2 separate regions of the Homo sapiens genome follow, and region 2 is linked to region 1. Evidence: promoter capture Hi-C in 16 types of primary human blood cells and fetal thymus (Javierre and others, 2016). All regions are on one chromosome and are shown on one strand. The core of a region is centred on a gene start or on the middle of the fragment in contact, and the rest is flanking DNA. Distances in the headings are between cores, read along the strand shown.

The links. Contacts are between HindIII fragments. The CHiCAGO score rates a contact against its expected background, and 5 or more counts as called.
Region 2: a fragment that was not itself captured here is called in contact with the fragment with the promoter of NCAPH in region 1 in 2 of 17 cell types (total CD8 T cells and activated CD4 T cells); the score reaches 7.0 in total CD8 T cells.

What each region holds. Positions count from the first base shown.
Region 1 is chr2:96,332,008-96,337,621 of GRCh38, forward strand. It overlaps NCAPH (non-SMC condensin I complex subunit H), which reads left to right and starts at 3,759. Exons shown (of 18, transcript NM_015341.5): 1 at 3,759-3,841. The coding sequence starts at 3,823. RefSeq lists enhancers at 3,232-4,073, 4,074-4,915 and a silencer at 3,834-4,153. The HindIII fragment of the contact is 5,174 bases long and covers 1-4,541 here.
Region 2 is chr2:96,909,133-96,914,470 of GRCh38, forward strand. The region is part of intron 12 of FAM178B (family with sequence similarity 178 member B); the gene reads right to left. Among named protein-coding and RNA genes, the nearest start is that of SEMA4C, 42 kb to the left of the region's middle. RefSeq lists an enhancer at 4,104-4,791. The HindIII fragment of the contact is 1,581 bases long and covers 2,254-3,834 here.

The DNA.
Region 1 (5,614 bases), core at 2,509-5,008:
CCAGCTACTTGGGGGGGCTGAGGCAGGAGAATCACTTGAACCCAGGAGGCAGAGGCTGTGGTGAGCCGAGATGGCGCCATTACACTCCAACCTGGGCAACAAGAGTAAAATTCCGTCTCAAAAAAAAAAAAAAAAAGAAAAAAAAGGCATTTGCTTGGAGGCCAAAACGAACGCAAAGCCATTTCAACTATATGCCTACTAAGTCCCAGTGACTTGATGGTTTCTATCACAGACTACATCATTATATAAGCCAGCTGCAGGCTGGAAAGTCAGGGCAAATTTGAAGCCAAAAGATTGCTTGTTCAGGTAGCCAATGGATAACACTATTGTTTCTCACCTAAACTAAGGCAGTTTCCCATTTATTTGGGGGAAGTAGAATCTCCATGAAGAGTAAAATGGGGTGGGGAAGGAAGACGACACCAGCTCTGCTTTTCTGGCAGCCTAGGATTAGTGGAGGAACCTTAACTACTTTACTTTTGCACAAACAGAGGTATTGAGCTTTGTACACCACTGAGATCAGTGATAAATCATTCACTCTTCTTTATTTATTTATTATTATTATTTTTTTGAGATGGAGTCTTGCTCTGTTGCCCAGGCTGGAGTGCAGTAGCACAATCTCGGCTCACTGCAAGCTCCGCCTCCCAGGTTCATGCCATTCTCCTGCCTCAGCCTCCCGAGTAGCTGGGACTACAAGCACCCGCCACCATGCCAGGCAAATTTTTTTTTTTTTTTTGTATTTTTAGTAGAGACAGGGTTTCACTGTGTTAGCCAGGATGGTCTCGATCTCCTGACCTTGTGATCTGCCCACCTCGGCCTCCCGAAGTGCTGGGATTACAGGCTTGAGCCACCGCGCCCGGCCAAATCATTCACTCTTTTGGCACCCTTCATAGTCCTAAAAACAAAACAAAGATGGCATTCAGAGCAGGAGGTGAAAGACCTGCCCGCATAAGGCAGCCCTGGCCCAGAGAGACACTGGGCATGGAGCTGGCTTTGCCTTCCTGCACGTGAAGCTGGAAGCAGCTCAGGTGGCTCCATTATTCCCACAGAACAGCCTCAAGGCTCACCTAGTGGGTCACTTAGTAGCTTTCCTCCCCCAGGGCTTCCAAGCTGTTCTTCAGAGGCTCCTGATTCAGTGTATCACCTAACCCTTGCTACTCTTATGTACACATGGAATCCAGAGGATCACACTTGTCCCAGTGTCCTCCCTCAGATGCATTCAGCAGAGAGAACAAGTGAGGGAGATGACAGGGACCCCAGCATATACTGACCAAGTCCAGTGCGGGGATAGTGCCTTCCCCATTTTATAGACGGGGAAGAAAATGGGGCCCAGAGAGGTTAACATGCCCAACCCAGGATTTAAAATTGTCTTCCAGATGTACTCATTGAATACATATTTAAGTACTTGCTATGTCCAGGGCCAGCACCAGGCCATGGGAAAACCATAGTGAACAGATATGGCTTCATCCTCATGGAGCTGACGGTCTATGTAGGAGACAGACATGAAATAGTCACCCTAGTGCATGGAAAATTGCAGCTGTGACAAGTTCTCCTGAAGCCTCCAGTATGGAGAGTTGTGTGTATCAGGGAAGGTCTCCTTGAGGAACCTGAGGGGAGTAGAAACCTAACTGGAGCTACGGGGGTGAAGATGGGGATGAAGAGGATCCTAGCTAGAGGAGTGTGTGTGTGCAGAGGCCTGGGGGTAGGAGCAGGTGTGATGAGAGGAATCTGAAAAAAGGCCAGGGCAGCTGGAGGGCAGGGAGCAAGGGGAGCAAGGTCCCTGAGGAGGCTGGAGAGGCTGCAGGGGTGGGGAGGCTGGCAGGAAGACCCTTCCAGGACCTTGTAGGACGCTTAGAGGTTCCCAGGGTGGTGGAACCCCTGAAGTGTTATACTTCCGGGAGGAAGTGGTGGGGGACAAGTGGGAGTGACAGCTCAGATTTGGACTCCGCATACACTACTCAGGGCCTGAGGGGGGGCCAGAGCAGGCCAGTGAGAAGGTAATGTGGATGGAAGGAGAAAGGCAGGATTGGCAATTTTTAGGAGGTGAAAATAGCTTGCTTGATGATGGATTGTGTGGGGAGAGAAAGGGAGGGAATCCCCCAGGATGACTCCTGGGTGCTGATTTGGGTTCTTGGGTGGCTGATGGTATCATTTGCTGAGATAAACAGTGTCAACCTGTTTTCTCTAACCCACACAGCCTTACGCTGAAGATTTGAAGGTGGTCACTAGAAGAACAAGTTTATACGAACAACAGATAGGCTTAAAAAGTGGTTTTCAGCCAGGCGCAGTGGCTCATGCCTATAATCCTAACACTTTGAGAGGCCAAGGCGGGTGGATCACCTGAGGTCAGGAGTTCGAGACCAGCCTGACCAACATGGTGAAACCCCATCTCTACTAAAAATACAAAAATTAGCTGGGTGTGGTGGTGGGCGCCTGTAATCCCAGCTATTCAGGAGGCTGAGGCAGGAGAATCGCTTGAACTTGGGAGGTGGAGGTTGCAGTGAGCTGAGATCGTGCCATTGCACTCCAGCCTGGGCAACAAAGCAAGACTCTGTCTCAAAAAAAAAAAAAAAAAAAGTGGTTTTCAACAAAGGGTGGCACTTTTTGATTGCCAAAATGAGCGACAGCACTGATGGCATTTAGTGGGCAAATGATGTTACGGGGGCTTAAGAGCCCACAAAGAGGGCAAACATCCTATCATGCCAAGGATTGTTTCACCCTGAATGCCAACAGTGCCCTTGAAGAGAAACACTGTAAAAGATGCCAGATATGAGAGTTACAAGAAATTCTAGGATGTGCTGGGGATATTCCAGGGAATCACCCTGGCCTTTACTCCCATAATTCAATCCTTAGGGTTAGATGAAACTGAGGGGACAGATGGCATTTTATGCTTATTTCGCTTTTTCGACCTTTATTTATTTTTTGAAGGGTGGGGGGTGTTCACAGGAAGCTATTCACAAGAATCTGAATAAAACGATGGCCTTCATCTTACACTATATTAAATGTACATTTTGTACTATATTTAATGTATACATAGCATTTCTGCATCAGTTCTTCCCCACCTGGACCGCTCCTCATTCCCACGTAGGCTCCCGCTCCCCTCCGTCCCTCTTCCCGGAGGTTTTCAGCGTTTTGCTGCCCACACAGCACAGATCTCTAAGGGAAATAAACCTCGTTTTCTCGATCATCTGCCTCCCCATTATAAAGTAAATTCCACGGGCTGAGCGCGGTGGCTCACGCCTGTAATCCCAGCACTTCGGGAGGCCGAGGTGGGCGGATCACCTGAGGTCAGGAGTTCGAGACCAGCCTGGCCAACATGGTGAAACCCCGTCTCTACTAAAAACACAAAAATTGGCCAGGCGTGGTGGCAGGCGCCTGTAATCCCAGCTACTCGGGAGGCTGAGGCAGGAGAATCGCTTTAACCCAGGAGGCGGAGGTTGCAGTGAGCCAAGATCGCGCCACTGCACTCCAGTCTGGGGGACAAGAGCTAGACTTCGTCCCAAAAAAAAAAAAAAAAGAAAGTAAATTCCACGAAAGACGGGCCTTGCTCACCCTGCTCGACGCTGGGTTCCCAAGCCCAGTCCTGCACCTAGTCCTCGAAGGAGGGGGTTTTCATACTATTTCAGGGGGTCCACCGACCCCAAGAAGCCCAATCAGACGGGGTCCTCAACCCAAAACTCACTCTGACGCCGCCCGCGGAGGCCCGAGGTGGTCTGCGCAGGCGCGCTGCTGGCCCGGCCCGCCGGCGACGTCACGCGGCCGTTACGGCGCTCAGGCGTCTCGACGCGCGCGATTTAAAACCAGCTCAGGAGACGCCAAGGAAAGATGGGACCTCCCGGCCCAGGTGAGCCGGGCGGTCGGGAGGCGCGGCGGGAAGGGCCCCTAGCGAAGCAGTACTTCGGGCGGGCAGGGCTGGCGGGCTGGCCTGGGCGGGGAGAGAGGATATGCTCAGCTCGGGTCTTGGCCCTGCGGCTGACAGCAGAGGCCGGTGCGGGGGGAGGGGAGGGCCGGCGCGGGGCGGGCGGACCTTGTGCGCTCAGCCAATCAGAAAGCGGCTTCGGCCGGAGTCGGAGAGCGCGCGGGCCCTGCCTCACACTCCTCAGTTCCCGGGCGGGCGGTGGGGCGGCCTCCTCCTTGGGCTCCTAAAGCGTGCTCGGTGTCTCTCCATTAAAATGGTGGTTTTCCTGGAATAGACGTTATTTTCAGGGCTTTGGAAGCGATGTGGTTACCGTTGTATGCTTAGCATGCATGCATTTATTTTTGCATCTATTCAAAAGTACTGAGCTCTCCCGTTGGGCGAACAAAATTGATAATATCTCTATACTGTTGGAGTTGGGGAGACAGACAGTAAACAAAAGAAATAATTACACATGAGGCTGAGTGCTGTGATTGAGTATAGCAGAGTAGGGGTGGCTCCGCCAGGGGTTCAGGGAAGATCTTTAGGCAGATACTAGGGAACGTGTTTCAGGCAGAAGGAGCAAGTACAAAAATGAGGCAGGGAAGAGCCTGGCCTGGCCTAGGACCTGACCAGAACATTGTGACCAAGCTTAGTGAGGCCTGACACGTAGGCAGGGTCTGGAGGCCTTGGGTAAGAGATTTGGAAATTGAGTTACATTTTGGACATGGTATGTGTGACTTACGGGAGAGACTCAGGTGAAGGGATCTATAATCACTTAGGTGAGAATTTGGCTCTCAGGGGAGTTATATGGACCACTCAGGGAAGTGACCCATGGATTGAGAAATAAATTTGGATACCATTATCATATAGACCATTAGACCATAAAACCATGGGAACAGGTGAGAACACTAGGAAGGCCCTGCACATCTAGGACCAACGTTTAGAAGCTGGATAGAGAAGGATGAGCTGGAAAAACTCAAAAGACAGTGGTATAGGAAGAAGCCAAGAGTGTTTCAACAAGGAAGGGACTGTCAGCTGTTTCAAATGCTGCTGGATTCCAAGAGAAAGGCCAGAAAATGACCATAGGGTTTAGGCAACATGGAAGTTATAGATGATCACGAAAAGATAGTTCTCATGAAGTTGGAATAGGAACCAGACCAGAGTGGGTTGAAAAATGAGTGGGAAATGAGGAAGTAGACATAGGAAGTGTCTTTGAGCTCAGTAACCATCGGTTGAATGAATGGATGCATAATATCAAAGGCAAGGAGAGAAACCACGGAAAGAAGATTTGGAGAATTAAAGCATGCCTCTAATTCCAAGTTTAGTTTCTCTCTTAGACAAGGTTCTCCTTAAGTGCTTCCTATTTCTGTTAAGGTATCCTCTCCAAAGGTCCAGGTTCCTTCCTTAGCCTGTAGCCTACTGTGCTCACATCCAAATACTGTCCTCATAAGTCCTCTTGATTCAGTTTCTAAAAATGTCTCTTGCCTCCTCCCTTCCTATTTTTACTTTGTTGTTTTTTGTTTTTTGTTTTTTTTGAGACGGAGTCTCGCTCTATCGCCCAGGCTGGAGTGCAGTGGTGCAATCTCGGCCCACTGCAAGCTCCGCCTCCTGGGTTCACGCTATTCTCCTGCCTCAGCCTCCCGAGTAGCTGGGACTACAGGCTCCTGCCACCACGCCCAGCTAATTTTTTGTATTTTAGTAGGAACGGGGTTTCACCGT
Region 2 (5,338 bases), core at 1,794-4,293, 580 kb after region 1:
ACTCTGTCTCAAAAAAAAAAAAAAAAAAGAAAAAAGAAAAAAGAAAACACCTTGAAGTCACCTAATCTAGCTTCTGCATAGTTATCCATTTTAATTCTCTTTGCCACACCCCCAATAAGTGTTCACTTCAGCAAAGGAAGTGCAGTATCTGCCAAGACAGCCCAAATTCATTTACCGGACTAACCAAAGGAAATCGTTCCCATATTTTGCCAAAACCTGCCCTTCTGGGACTTCCACTCAAAGCTTCTGGATCCTGTCCTCTGGGGCCTCCAGGAGGGAGCTCTCCGCCAACCTAGGTCCTCTACGCTTGGAAGAAGTTGCCACATTCCCGTGGCTGCCCCTTCCTGCAGGTGCCACAGCCCCCTCATTCCCATCTTTTTGTATCTTTTTTTGCCATTTTGGTTTGGGTCCTCTGACGGCCCTGGGGGTTGTCAATGTTCCCTTTCAAGTGCGACACTCGGAGTTGAGGCTGATGCTCATTTTCTTGGCAGCCCCACAACACAACGCAGTTAACAGATTGAGCCCAAAGTCTTTTTTTTTCACACGTCTTGCTGTCAAATCCCATTTCCCAGATCCTGTTCTTAATTGTGCAGCTGGGCCTCCCTTTTCAACTCAGTCCATCATTACAGTCTGTTGAGATCTTCTGGGATCTTCGGTCTGCTGTCAGTTGTATTCATGTCATCTGTGAATCTGACCATTGTTCCATTAATAGCCTCATCCAAAACACTGGGCCTGCCCTGGCCAACCTGTGAGTGGAGACAGAACTCGGGGTGGTGACAGGGCCTGCCCTCTGGGCACACTCTGATGGCCAGCAGCACCTTTTGATAATGAGCCCACTTCATTCTGTCATCATTTGACCCGCATTCCTTCATGCCGAACCCAGCCTATGGTGACAGCCTCTACCAAATGCCCAGGAAACCTACATACAGGCACTGCACAGTCCTCTCTGGAGTATGATTCTGGTTGACCTGTGGAAAAGTGAGGCTTGCCTGGTATGATTTCTTGTTAGGACTCCTAGAAAGCAGTGTTTCCTTTTCTACGTATGTGCTCCCAAGCCGGAATCCCCTAGAGAATAACCTGGAGGAGCACATCAAGCACCATTGCCCCCATCTCCTGGAAGCCCTCCGCCTCCAAAAGTCCCCATGGAGCCACGGCCCCAACTTCATGTCTCCCAGGAGCAGTGAGACGCCGTCCCACCGGGGAGACGGCCTCCTCTGCACAGTGAGGTTGGTCATGCAGCCTCCCACACTCTCTTAGGCTTTAACCCCCTTCGACGACCAATATTTGATTCCAAATGAAAAACTGTTCTCCTTGACAAAGACGGCAAAAGCAAAATACGAATTGTGTAGTGTTGTTCCGTCTGCATCAGGGCTAACGTTTTACTGTCAGCCCCAAACCGCACTCCTTGCTTCAAAAGTAACTACACAGAAACTCCTTTTATGGCCTTCGGCATTTCCCAACAACACTCCCGCTGGTCCACGCCGTTTGTCCGGCTACCTTACTTTGGTGCCCTTCTTTCCAAACCTGAGACCACGAACAAGCTCTGAGGGGAGCCCCTGCAGCCTTTAATGCTTCCCTTCTTTTCCTCACTGGGCTCCTTTGTAATCCATATTCAAAGCTTCAGTGCAAGATCTCCCAGCCCACCTGAGACATCTCTCTTCTTAATTTTTTTTTTTTTTTTTTTGAGACAGTCTTGCTCTGTCGCCCAGGCTGGAGTGCAGTGGCGTGATCTTGGCTCACTACAACAACCTCAGCCTCCTGAGTAGCTGGGACTACAGGTGCACACCACAATGCCCGGCTAATTTTTGTATTTTTAGTAGACCCGGGGTTTCACCATGTTGGCCAGGCTGGTCTTGAACTCTTGACCTCAAGTGATCCACCTGCCTCAGCCTCCCAAAGTGCTGGGATTACAGGTGTGAGCCACCGTGCCTGGCCCTAGAATCTTTTTTTTTAAGTTCTACCTCTTTATGCTTCTTTGAAATCTACCCTCCAGAAGCAGACAAAGCACGAGTGTGCTGAGTGAGTCCCCCTGCCATGCCAGGCTCTGTGGACTCAGGGAGTACGGCCACAGCACCTGTCCCTCTGATGCTCACGGCCCGCGTCAGTGAGGGGGACAGCCTGATGGGCCTGCAACAAGGGCTGCTCGAAGAGGAGATGCCTTGGCCGGAGCCTCGTCTTGAGGCTGAAGAGATGTGAACCAGGCAGAGGAGGACAATGGGAAGAGGCCTCTCCAGGAGGAGACAGATGCGGAAAAGCTTGGAGGCAAATGATCATCTTGAGTTGGGGTGGCTGCCAAGTTCTAGGACGCGGCAAAAGCGTGGAAGCCTGCAGGGAGCAGGGTGGCATGTGAGCCTGGGAAAGGGGGCACCAATGCCCTCCAACCCCAGGCTGCACCGTGGCATTTCACCCTGAGGGGGAAAGTCTGAAAGATTTTATGCACATCAGCAATGCGAACACATGAGCATCTGAAGGACGGTCACACTCCGGGACAGCACAAGGTGGAGCTGGTGGAGAAAGCCTGGAAAGAGACAGTGGGATGCTCTGGCGGAAATCCAAGGGGGTTGCAGGAAGAGCTGCACCAAGGCAGCGACAGGGAGGGTGAGGAGGAATGAGCACTGTGGGAGATTGGGGAGCTCCAGGGCACCGAATCTGTCCATAGGACTCCAGGCCTGGGCAGTGGGCAGACACTGGTGCCACTCATGGAGCCATGGAAGACAGGGAAGGGGTCCTCCTGGGAAGGCGGTGACTCCTGCTTCCCACATGCTGAATCCCAGACATGTGCCACACAGATAGGTGCTCAGCAGCAAAGTCTGGCCACAGGTATTCATTTGGGAGCTGCTAGCATGTGCCTGGAGCTGAGGCCTCGGGTGCAGATGAGATGGTGTCTCAGGCTGGCTTCCCCAGAAAGTAGGCTCTGAAATGGATATTAGCAAGCAGGGAATTTACGTAGGGAGAGAGGATGCAGGGAATTTATGCGGGGAGAGACAAAGGAAACCAGGCTGCCACGCAGCCAGTGAAGGCCTCAGCTGACCCCACAAGGACTCCGGAGCCAGCAGGGTCCTTCGGAGACATCCTCAACTAAGGCAACGGGGAAGATCTTTGTGTCTCAGCACTGGGCTGCTGCCAAGGAAGGGGCCCAGCCCTGGTAAGGTGACCACCTTTGGCAGAGGTGACTCCTCTGCCACCCCCAGCAGTGGAAAGAGTGCCCCAGTCCTGGATCGGGGCAAGTGGGGGGCACCTAGCACCCCCGACTTCATGGGCCTGTGTCACAGTAAGGGCTAGGGTGGAATCCTGAGGCCCACCAAGACTCGAGGGCTGGTGGGGGAGGGGTATCCCTGAGGGCAGCTGAGGAAGCCAGGAGGGCCCTGGGAAGCCCAGGGAAGGAAGTGCTGGTTGCTCATCAGGAAGAGCCCGAGAGGTCCCTGGTGACGGAGCAGCTTGGCTGGAGTGCCTGGTGCCCCAAGAGGTGTCTCCTCAGCTCCTGGCCCTTTAGGTCCTTCAGACATCCCACCTGAGAGGGAGCCGCGTCCTCTCCAGCCATGTCCCCCTCCTGGCGATCATGGCCTGACCGCCGCCCACCTTCACGCTGCTGTCTGCCTCCCAGCTCCAGCCCAGGCTCCGGATGCGACCTTCATCTTGCCTCTTGTTCCTTCCTCCAGGTTTGGTGCCCTTCTGAAATCTCCAGGTTGACTGGGCCTTGACTGCCTCCTTCCAGACCTTCTGGCCTCACCCGCCCACAGTGAGAGCTCTCTGTGACACTCTGAGCTCCGAAGAATCCAACCTGCCCGAGGGTGGGCAGGATTCAGCCATGAGTGAAAGAGAACTGGGGGAGGAAGCTTGGAGCTGCGGCAGGAGCTCGAGGGAGATGTGGGTGGAGACAGAACGGCTGTTTTAAGGTAGGAGACGCAGGAACGCATTTATTTGCTGCAGAGAAAGCTAGTGAACAAAAAGCAAACGGTACAAGAATAAGGGATGACTGCAGAAGGTTTTGGGAGAGGCAGGACTGCCAGGATCCAGAATTAAGGGTGCAGTGGGCAGCAGGGAGGTGAGAACTGAGAGCACTGCGTTTGTCTAGTGGGGGTGGCTGTTCGCTGGGAGTGCAGAGGCTTCAGCAGCAGGAAGCATGGAGTCTGCTAAGGTCCCCAGGAGGCTGGCCAGGAACTCGCTGTGGCTCCGGGCAGCCTGAAGGGGTCAAGAGCCAAGGTGGGGACAAGGGACATGCATGTGGCATCACTGTTTGGCCGTGCAGTTTCAAGTCTGAGAACAGGCAGGCAGGGAGTCCACAGTGGAGAAGGGGTCCAGGAGCTGACCCAGGGCCGGGCAGTGGTAAGGGGAGAAGGAAAGGTGGGGCCCTCTGGCCCCACAGTGAGGAAGTGAACAAAATGGGAGGGAAACGAGGGTTTCGAGGGAAGCCACGGTGCATCTGCGCCTGTCCCAGCTCTTATCCCCAGTGCGCAAGGACCTGACGAGCGTGAGGCTGCTCTCTCCCTAGCCTGTCTGCACTTCCGCTCCATCAGTCAGTTCCTCCTTGGTGGCCACACAGAACCTGCTTGGCTGGCTGCTCCAGACATAAGAACACTGAGAGGATCCTGGGGTGCTCCAGAATTCACAGGAAGATGGAGAACCTGGCCAAGGGGTGTGGAGCAGCAGGGTCCCTGGCCAGAAAAGCCTGTGAGGACTGCCGTCCCTGAGTCCTTTCCTCAGGAGCATCCAAGTGGTTAGGCCTGGGTCTCGCTCCCAGAGGTGGAACAAAGGAGTGCCTGACTCCCGGCTTCTGTGCAGAGGAGGGTGCGAGGAAGACGCCTCCTCAACACAGGAAGGAAGCCCACACCCCCCGCAAACCTCAATGTATTTCCATCACAGGAAGAGATCAGAAGAGAGCCAAACATTGTTGGCTTTTACTTATTTGCCAAATATTTACTCAGCACCCGTGATATTCTAGTCCACGCTCTGTTCTGGGTGCTGAGGATGCAGACATGGGGGAGATGGACGGGGCCCTCCCGCCCAGGGAGCTCATACTCATGGGGAGGGCTGGTCATAGTTCACTTCTGGTCCTGGTAGTCCGTGGAGAAAAATGAAGGAAAGGGAGGTTGTGCAGAGCCCTGAGGTGGCAGCTCATTTGGAAAAAAGGATCAGGTGAAACCTCTCTGAGGCAGTGACATGTGAGCAGAGACCACCATGATGAGAAGGGGGGAGTCTCCTACCAACGTGCGGGCATGAGGGAGGGTGGGCATCAAGACACAAGTGCCCAGTGCACCGCAGGGACAGGGAGAAGAAGAGCAGAGGGCAGGGCCACACCGCAAAGGGGCCTTAGCGGCCACCTTAAAGACTCCAGGCT